2 separate regions of the Homo sapiens genome follow, and region 1 is linked to region 2. The links are contacts of gene promoters, found by promoter capture Hi-C in blood cells and fetal thymus (Javierre and others, 2016). All regions are on one chromosome and are shown on one strand. Each heading gives the region's core, a stretch centred on a gene start or on the middle of the fragment in contact. The rest is flanking DNA. Distances are from core to core; before and after follow the strand shown.

Region 1 (4,109 bases), core at 730-3,229, 350 kb before region 2:
TAAGGTGATACTGGCTTTCTCTTGTGGAATATTATCGATAGATTCAAAGCATTTTTTTTTTTTTTTTTGAATCCCTGATAGAATTCAGTGGTGAATCCATCTAGTCCTGGCCTTTGTTTTTGTTGTTGGTAATTTTTAAATTACTTTTTCAATCTCACTCCTTGTTATAGGTCTGCTAAGGGTTTCTAATTCTTACCAGTTTATGCTAAGAGGGTTGTACATTTTCAGGAATTTTTTCATTTCTTCTAGGTTTTCTAGCTCCTGTATGTAAAACTGTTGATAGTAGTCTTGAACAATCTTTTGTATTTCTGTGGTGTCAGTTGTAATATCTCTCATTTTCTTTCTAATTATTTGGATCTTCTCTCTTCTTTTCTTGGTTCATATTGCCAATGGTCTATCAATTTTATTTGTCTTTAAATAACTGCTTTTTGTTTCTTTTATGTTTTGTATATTTTTGTTTCAGTTTCACTTAGCTCCTCTCTGATCTCAGTTATTTCCTTTCTTCTGCTGAGTTTTGGATTGGTTTCTTCTTTCTTTAGTTCCTTGAGATGTGATGTTAGATTGCCTATTTGTGCTCCTTCAGTCTTTTTTAACATAAGGGTTTAAAGCTATAAGCTTTCCTCTCAGCAGCCACTTTGCTGTATCCTGGAGGTTTTTATAGGTTTTTTTCACCATTATTGTTCAGAGCAAAAAAATTTTTAGTGTTTATCTTGATTTCATTTTTGATCCAATGATCATTCTGGAGCAGGTTATTTAATTTCTATGTATTTACAAGGCTTTGAAGGTTCCTTGGAACCTTCAAAGGTTTCTTTTTTCTTTTTTTTTTTTTTTAGACTGAGTTTCACTCTTGTTGCCCAGGCTGAAGTGCAATGGTGTGATCTCAGCTCACTGCAACCTCTGTCTCCTGGGTTCACATAACTCTCCTTCCTCAGCCCCCTGAGTAGCTGAAATTACAGGCATGCACCACCATGCCCAACTAATTTTGCATTTTTGTAGAGACAGGGTTTCTTCATGTTGGACAGGCTGTTCTCGAACTCCCAACCTCAGGTGATCTACCCATCTCAGCCTCTCAAATTGCTGGAATTACAGGCATGAGCCACTGCACCTGGCCTGGAGTTGGTTTTTAATTATATTCCAGTGCGTTCTGAGAGAGTACTTGATATAATTTCAATTTTCTTAAATTTATTGAGGCTTGTTCTGTGGCCTATCATATGGTTTATCTTAGAGTAAGTTCCATCTGCTAAGGAATAGAATGTATATTCTGTAGTCATTGGGTAGAATGTTCGGTAAATACCTATTCTATTTTTCTTAGGTTAGAGTTTAAATCCCTTGTTTCTTTGCTGACTTTCTGTCTTGATAACCTGTACAGTGCTGTAGCCACAGTATTTAATTCCCACATTATTTCAGTGTTGCTATCTATTTTATTTCTTAATTTAGTAGCAATTGTTTTATAAATTTGGGAGTTCCAGTGTCAGGTGCATATATATTTAGGATTGTAATATTTTTCTGTTTGACAAGGCCTTTTATCATAGTATTATAATTCACCATCTTTTTTAACTTATGTTACTTTAAAGTTTGCTGTGTCTAAAATAAGAACAGCTACTTTTGCTCAACTTTGGTGTCCATTTGCATAATTTTTTTTTCACCCATTTACTTTAAGTTTATGTGAGTCCTTATGGGTTAGGTGAGTTTCTTGAAGATAGCTGATACTTGATTGGTGAATTCTCATTCATTCTGCTATTCTCTGTTTTCTAAGTGTAGCATTCAGTCCATTTACAGTTGACATTATTATTGAAATGTGAGATACTCCTCCATTCATTGTGCTGTTAGATGCCTGAATACACCTTCTTTAATTTTTATTTTTATAGGTCCTGTAAGATTTATGCTGTAAATATGCTCTGTTTTGATGCATTTCTAGGATTTGTTTGAAGATGTAGAGGTTTTTTTTGGCGGGGGGAGTTTCTTTAAGTGCTGGCTTGATAGTGGTGAACTCACTCATCATTGGTTTGTCTAAAAAATATGTATGTTTCCTTTAGTTATGAAGCTCAGTTTCACTGGATATGAAATTTTTGGCTGATAATTGCTTCATTTAAGGAGGCTAAAAATAAGCCCCAATTCCTTCCAGCTTGTGGGGTTACTGCTGAAAAATCTGCTGTTAATCTAATAATCTTTATAAGAATCTATAATTCTTTATAAATTATCTAGTGCCTTTTCTTCACAGCTATTATGATTCTTTCCTTCCTCTTGACTTTAGAAAGCCTAACGACAATGTCTCTTGGTGATGACATTTTTGCAATAAATTTCTCAGGTGTTCTTTGAGCTTCTTGTGTTTGGATGTCTACATCTCCAGCAAGGCCAGAAATTTTTTCTGAATTATTATTTCCTCAAATACATTTTCTAAAATCTTAGATTTCTCTTCTTCCTCAGAAATGTCTATTATTCTTAGGTTTAATTACTTAACATAATCCCAAATATCATGGAGGCTTTCTTCTTCTTCTTTTTTTTTTTTTTTTTTTTTTTGTCTTTTTTAGATTGGGTTAATTCAAAACTCTTTCTTTGAGGCCTGAGGTATTTTCTCATACTTGTTTGATTCTATTGCTGAGACTTTCTGGTACTTTTTGCATTTTTCTAAGTGTTTCCTTTATTTCTTGAAATTGTAATTGTTTAATGCTATCTATTTCCTGACAGTTTATTTTCTCTGGTGGTGCCGTGTTTACTTTAATAATCAAAACATTCAAATTCTTCTTCAGGCAATCCAGGGATTTTTTTCTTAGTTTAGATATACTGCTGGTGAGCTAATGTGACATTCTGTGGATGTTAAAGAACCTTGTTTTGTCAAATTACCAGTTACTTTTCCAGTTTCTTCTCCTTTGGGTTGGCTATTTCAGAAAAAAGATCTGGGGCTTATGGCTGCTGTTCAGATTCTTTTCTTCCTTGGGGTTCTCTCGATGTAGTACTCTGCCCCTCTTACTAGAGATGTGGCTTCCTCTGAGCTGAATTGTAGTGATTTTTATTTTTCCTCAGGATCTAGCCACTCAGCAAGCTAACAAGCTCCACACTGATACTAAAGTGCAGAGTCCTGTGATGTGAACCATATTCAGGTCTCTTAGCCATGGATACCAGCACTAGCACCAGTGGAGGTGAAAGGGAAGTACAATGGGCTCTGTGGGGGTACTTAGTTGTATAGTTCTTTAATGCATTAGTGTAGTGCTGGTTGACATCCTCTCAGAAGCTGGTGCTTTCAAGAGAGCACTAGCTGTGGTAAGTATAGAAAGGATCAGACAGTGGATGCACCCGCAGAACTCTCAATAGAATAAGACGTTTGTCCTCAGCTACAATGTTACAAGCTTGGATAGGAAAGGACCATCAGGTGGAGGAAGGGTGAGATGAGTCTGAGCTCAGACTCCCTTCTGGAAGGTCTTGCTGCTGCTGCTGCTATGGGGATGGGGATCTGGTTTTCAGGTCAGTGAGTTATGTTCCCAGGAGGTTTATGGCTGCATCTGTTGTGCCATTCAGGTTTTCAGAGATGTGGGGAAAATTCAGCATTTACAGGCCTCACTCAGCTTCCATACAACCCAAAAATCCAGTTTCACTCCCACAGTGTTCCTCTCAGCAGCACTGAGTTAGTTTCCAGACAGTGAGCCAGCAGGACTGAGAACTTGAACCAGGATACTGAGAAAGCAAGCAGGACTTTCCCCGCTCCCTGCCTGTCAAGTCTGCACGCTGGATTAATTTCTTCCTCGAGTTCTGACCAGGAGACTTCATATTTGATTGTAATTGTTTAAAATTTCAGTTGGAGGTTCCTTTCTTCTTGTAGTCTTTTTCCAGTTCCTCTGGCATTCACCATGAAGACCCCAGGGAGAAAAGTAAGAAATTACTTTCTTGGGGACCCAGAGAACTCAAAAGGCTTTTCCCACTGCCTCCTCTACCCAGGTATTTGGCTTGGCTCTCTAAATTAACTCAGCTTCAGGTGAGCTGCAATTCTACTATCCTGACATCGACATTTAGGTTCCCTAGTGGGGTGTGTTTTCAGGGGCAAATGATCCCATTCTCCCACTTCCACAATTTGGACAGTCTCAGTATTTGGATTGTCCCCAGGTACTGCAGAA
Region 2 (3,793 bases), core at 101-2,600:
CTTCATAATCAAGATTAACTGCAAAAAAAAAAAAAAAAGGAAAAACCCTGCAAATCCAAAACTCTCCTTGATATGTGTCCTTCGTAACAGACGAAAAAAAAAAAAAAAACCTCTATAATCCCAAGGCTAGAAAGCGACTCGACTTCCAAGGAATGACGCACATCTGAACAAACACTATGCTATTTGGGTTATGAGTCCTTACTAAAATGAAGATAAATGTAATGCAGATAAAAAATTGTTTCACTTTTTAAAACCTAAGCCATTATCTCTTCCCACTCCCAGCAGTACGAAAAAGTTTAATTGCAAATGCTGAGAAGTGCGAACATCCACATAAAAATAACGTTGCAGCCTGGTTCAATATATGAGAAAAAAGCTGTATGCTCTGCGAAAACTTTTTGACTTCTCTGAATATTGTGTTAGTTGTTCACGACGACAGCCCAGGCTTATTTCAGTTTACATTCTTAATTCAGTCAAACTTCTACGAGGTTCATTTAGTAGTTTTCAGTATAGCAACCCAAAATGGTCTACGTTTAATAATAAATTTAATTGATGGCAAAGGATGCCACATCACTCCCATTATTTGCTATATTTGCTACATACATCTAAGGTCATATCAAAGAAAGAAAACACCAGTCCAAGTGGTTAACACACAAGCTTATATAACTTGCTTCTGTCATAGATCAAGTACTTCTGAGTAAGCTATTTTTTTGCGGTTAAATGTAATAAAAGCTTGTGTATGCCTAAACTATATTTAATAACAGCAGAACGTAGAAATATTTGAATCTTATATTTTTGTCCCTACAGCAGTCAGATGTTTAGAACCCCGTGGAATGTGGCGATCTGATACTAATATTCTGATGCCAGCTTGTTCGGGTCAGAAAAGTTAAATGAGAAATTTGGTGCTAAGGGTTTCTGGTCATGAGTGTAAATAACGCCTCGCCAAGTGGTAAACTGCCCCAACGTTCAAACCAAAGGCTACCCATTCCCAAATTTTGTTTCAAAGACTTACCGCGGGTGGGCGGATTTTGCAGATGCCAGACTTCTCTGCTATGGGCCTTATTTTCGCAATGTAGCCAAGCGGGTCTTGGAATTCAGCCCAGCTAGGCTCAAAAACCGGGCACTCCGGTGGCGGCAGGAACTCGTCACACCCCGGTTCCATGTCGGGCCTTAATGCTAAGCTGTAAAATAAGAATCACATTGTCTTTAATGACGCGCTGGTTCCTCCTACTAAAAGGCCTATGAAAATTTCATTTTCTTGAGAATTTCAAGGTTACTTTAATCCCGTAGCTGCTTACCAATCGTCAGGGATCCTAGTTTTACAGCCACCATCTTGACCTCCGGGCCCTGCAGTGTGGTACGAGCCGTCTCACTCCGCGGATCGATTTTTCCGGCGCTATTTCCAAACCTGTGAGACCTTCCGCACCTGAGATAAACGCTGAGGACGCAAGAGCGATTTTACCAGAGGAAAACAGTCACAGAGCCGTCGCTGGACTCATATTAAACAGTACTGCGACAGAACGAAAAAGCAAGATAAAAATAGTATGGCCGGATCTTTTTTAAAATGGGACCACTGCGCAAGTTACGCCTGCGTATTGCAGGGAAGGACCGTAAAAGGCTGTGGTGCTGATCAACGAAGGATTTCTCGGAGAAAATTCCTCCTTTGCGGAAATGTCCGTAGAAACGCACCTTTTTTTTTTCCTGCCAGGACAAACCGCCGGCGATATCCGTTCATGTGAAAGTGTTTACTAACATTCTCTGAAGACTCACTGGGTTCTCAGCTCGAGAACGTTCCTGTCACAAGACGTTTAGGAGGCAGGATGCCGGTACAATGTATTTATGTTCTTGTAAACTGTTGCATTAACAGTGCACTTCAAGTGGGCACATTTGTCGTTGGATTTTTTACCAACTCGAGCTTGGACTTTAGGACGGGGAAAAGAAGTGCTAAATGTTTTTGAATAAAACCTTTACTGCACATGATAAACATCCCTTAAAAATTACCTAGGAGCACCCTAAATTTTAAAATGATCACAAAGACCTGGACAGATTACAGTAAACCTTCAACATCGCTAAACACACGTACCATAAATCAAAAGAAACACACTGCTAATGATCCGTTTTTTGATGTGGAAATATCATGCTGTTTTTAAGGGAAATTATACTTTATTGCGATGTTTTATTTCAAAACAAGATGTTACACTTTATTTCCTATAATTTTATTTACAATATTTTACACCCGTTAAGCAAAAATCCCCCTACATTGCTATTCTGTTTTTTTTTAATCAGTTCACTACTGTAGTATCTTTTTGTTCTCCATATATTTTTGAAAAATACGCAAAAGGTAAGTTTTAAAAATCAAATGGTAGATTTTATTTGGAAGGGCACTGCCAGAAGTGCCTTAAAGTTTGATAGTTTGACAATTGTTTCGTATTGTACGATTCTTGGCATTTCCGTTTTTTTTTTTAACAATTTATCCATTTCATCTAGATTATCGGCTTCATGAGTTTATTATACTACATTACATATATATTCCTGTTTCAAAAGTTGTTACTTAATTTTCTGCTTTCTTTTTCCTAGTTTTATCTACATACTTTTTCTGTTTCATAAAGTTAGAGTTATAGAGTTCTATTTCATAAAATTAGTTATAGAGCCTGTATTATTTCAAATGATGAGATCTTTTTTCTCTGTTCAAGATAATTCATTATAATACAGCTTTATATTTTATGAATTCATTAGTAAATAGATATTTCAATTTCTACTTTTAGCTATTATAATGTTGCTATTAGCATTTGTGTACCGGTTTTTGTGTGCATGCTTAGTGTCATTTCTCGTGTGTATACACCTACAAGTAGAATTAGTGGGTTATATGGGAACTTTAGGTTTAAACTTTTCTTTTCCAAAGCATCTTCATCATTTAATTTCCATCTAAAGTGGAATACCGTTCTAGTTTCTTCATGTCCTCACCAATACTATAATTACATGACTTACTGATTTGACCATTACAATGTGTATGAGATCTCATAGAGTTTTGAGTTGGACTTCTTGAATTACTAATGATACAGTAGTGTTGAGCATCTTTTCGTAAGGTTGTTGGCTTGTTCATATGCTTTATATACCTTCTCTGGAGAAATGTCTATTCAAAATTTTTGGCTCTTTTCACATTGGTTTGTCTTTTTTTGTTTAGTTGTAATCTTATCTGATTCTTTTATCAAATATTTGATTTTTATAAAAAATAATTCTGTAAGCTGGCTTTTCTCTTTCCTAATAGTAAACTTTGAACAGAAAGATTTTTAATTTGATCTTTATCCAGTTTGCTTTTTTCTATTGTCACTTGTACTTTCAGTGTTGCCTCTGAGGGGATTTTGTCTAACCCAAAATCACAAGGATGTACTCTTCTCCTCTATTCTAGGACCTTTATAGTATTAGCTTCTACATTAAAGTCTTTGATACATTTTGAGTTAACTTGTGTAAACACTGTGAAGTAATGATCCAACTCAATATTTTTGCGTGTTGCCATCTAGTTGTCCCAGAATTTGTTGGAAACATTATTATTGCTTCATTAATTGTTCTTGGCACTCTTGATAACATTCCGTTGGCCATAAATGTATGGGTTTATTCTTGGACTCTCAATTTCGTTCCATATTTATATGTATGTATATATTCTAATGCCATATTGTTTTTATTGCTGTAGTTTGTGGAAGGTTTGAATTGGGAAAAGTGAGTAATCCCAACTTTCTTCTTGTTTTTTTCGAGACTGTTTGGCTATTATTTGTTTCTTGTATTTTTATTACCTTGC

What was found. The method cuts DNA at HindIII sites, captures the fragments that hold promoters and counts their contacts. A CHiCAGO score of 5 or more calls a contact.
Region 1: a fragment that was not itself captured here is called in contact with the fragment with the promoter of KDM5D in region 2 in 1 of 17 cell types (naive CD4 T cells); the score reaches 5.4 in naive CD4 T cells.

The regions. Positions count from the first base shown.
Region 1 is chrY:19,392,537-19,396,645 of GRCh38, forward strand. No RefSeq gene overlaps it. Among named protein-coding and RNA genes, the nearest start is that of TTTY14, 320 kb to the left of the region's middle. The HindIII fragment of the contact is 2,732 bases long and covers 614-3,345 here.
Region 2 is chrY:19,743,376-19,747,168 of GRCh38, forward strand. It overlaps KDM5D (lysine demethylase 5D), which reads right to left and starts at 1,351. Exons shown (of 27, transcript NM_004653.5): 1 at 1,296-1,351; 2 at 1,010-1,178. The coding sequence starts at 1,159. It overlaps KDM5D-DT (KDM5D divergent transcript), which reads left to right and starts at 1,410. Exons shown (of 3, transcript XR_938630.4): 1 at 1,410-2,338. The HindIII fragment of the contact is 5,320 bases long and covers 728-3,793 here.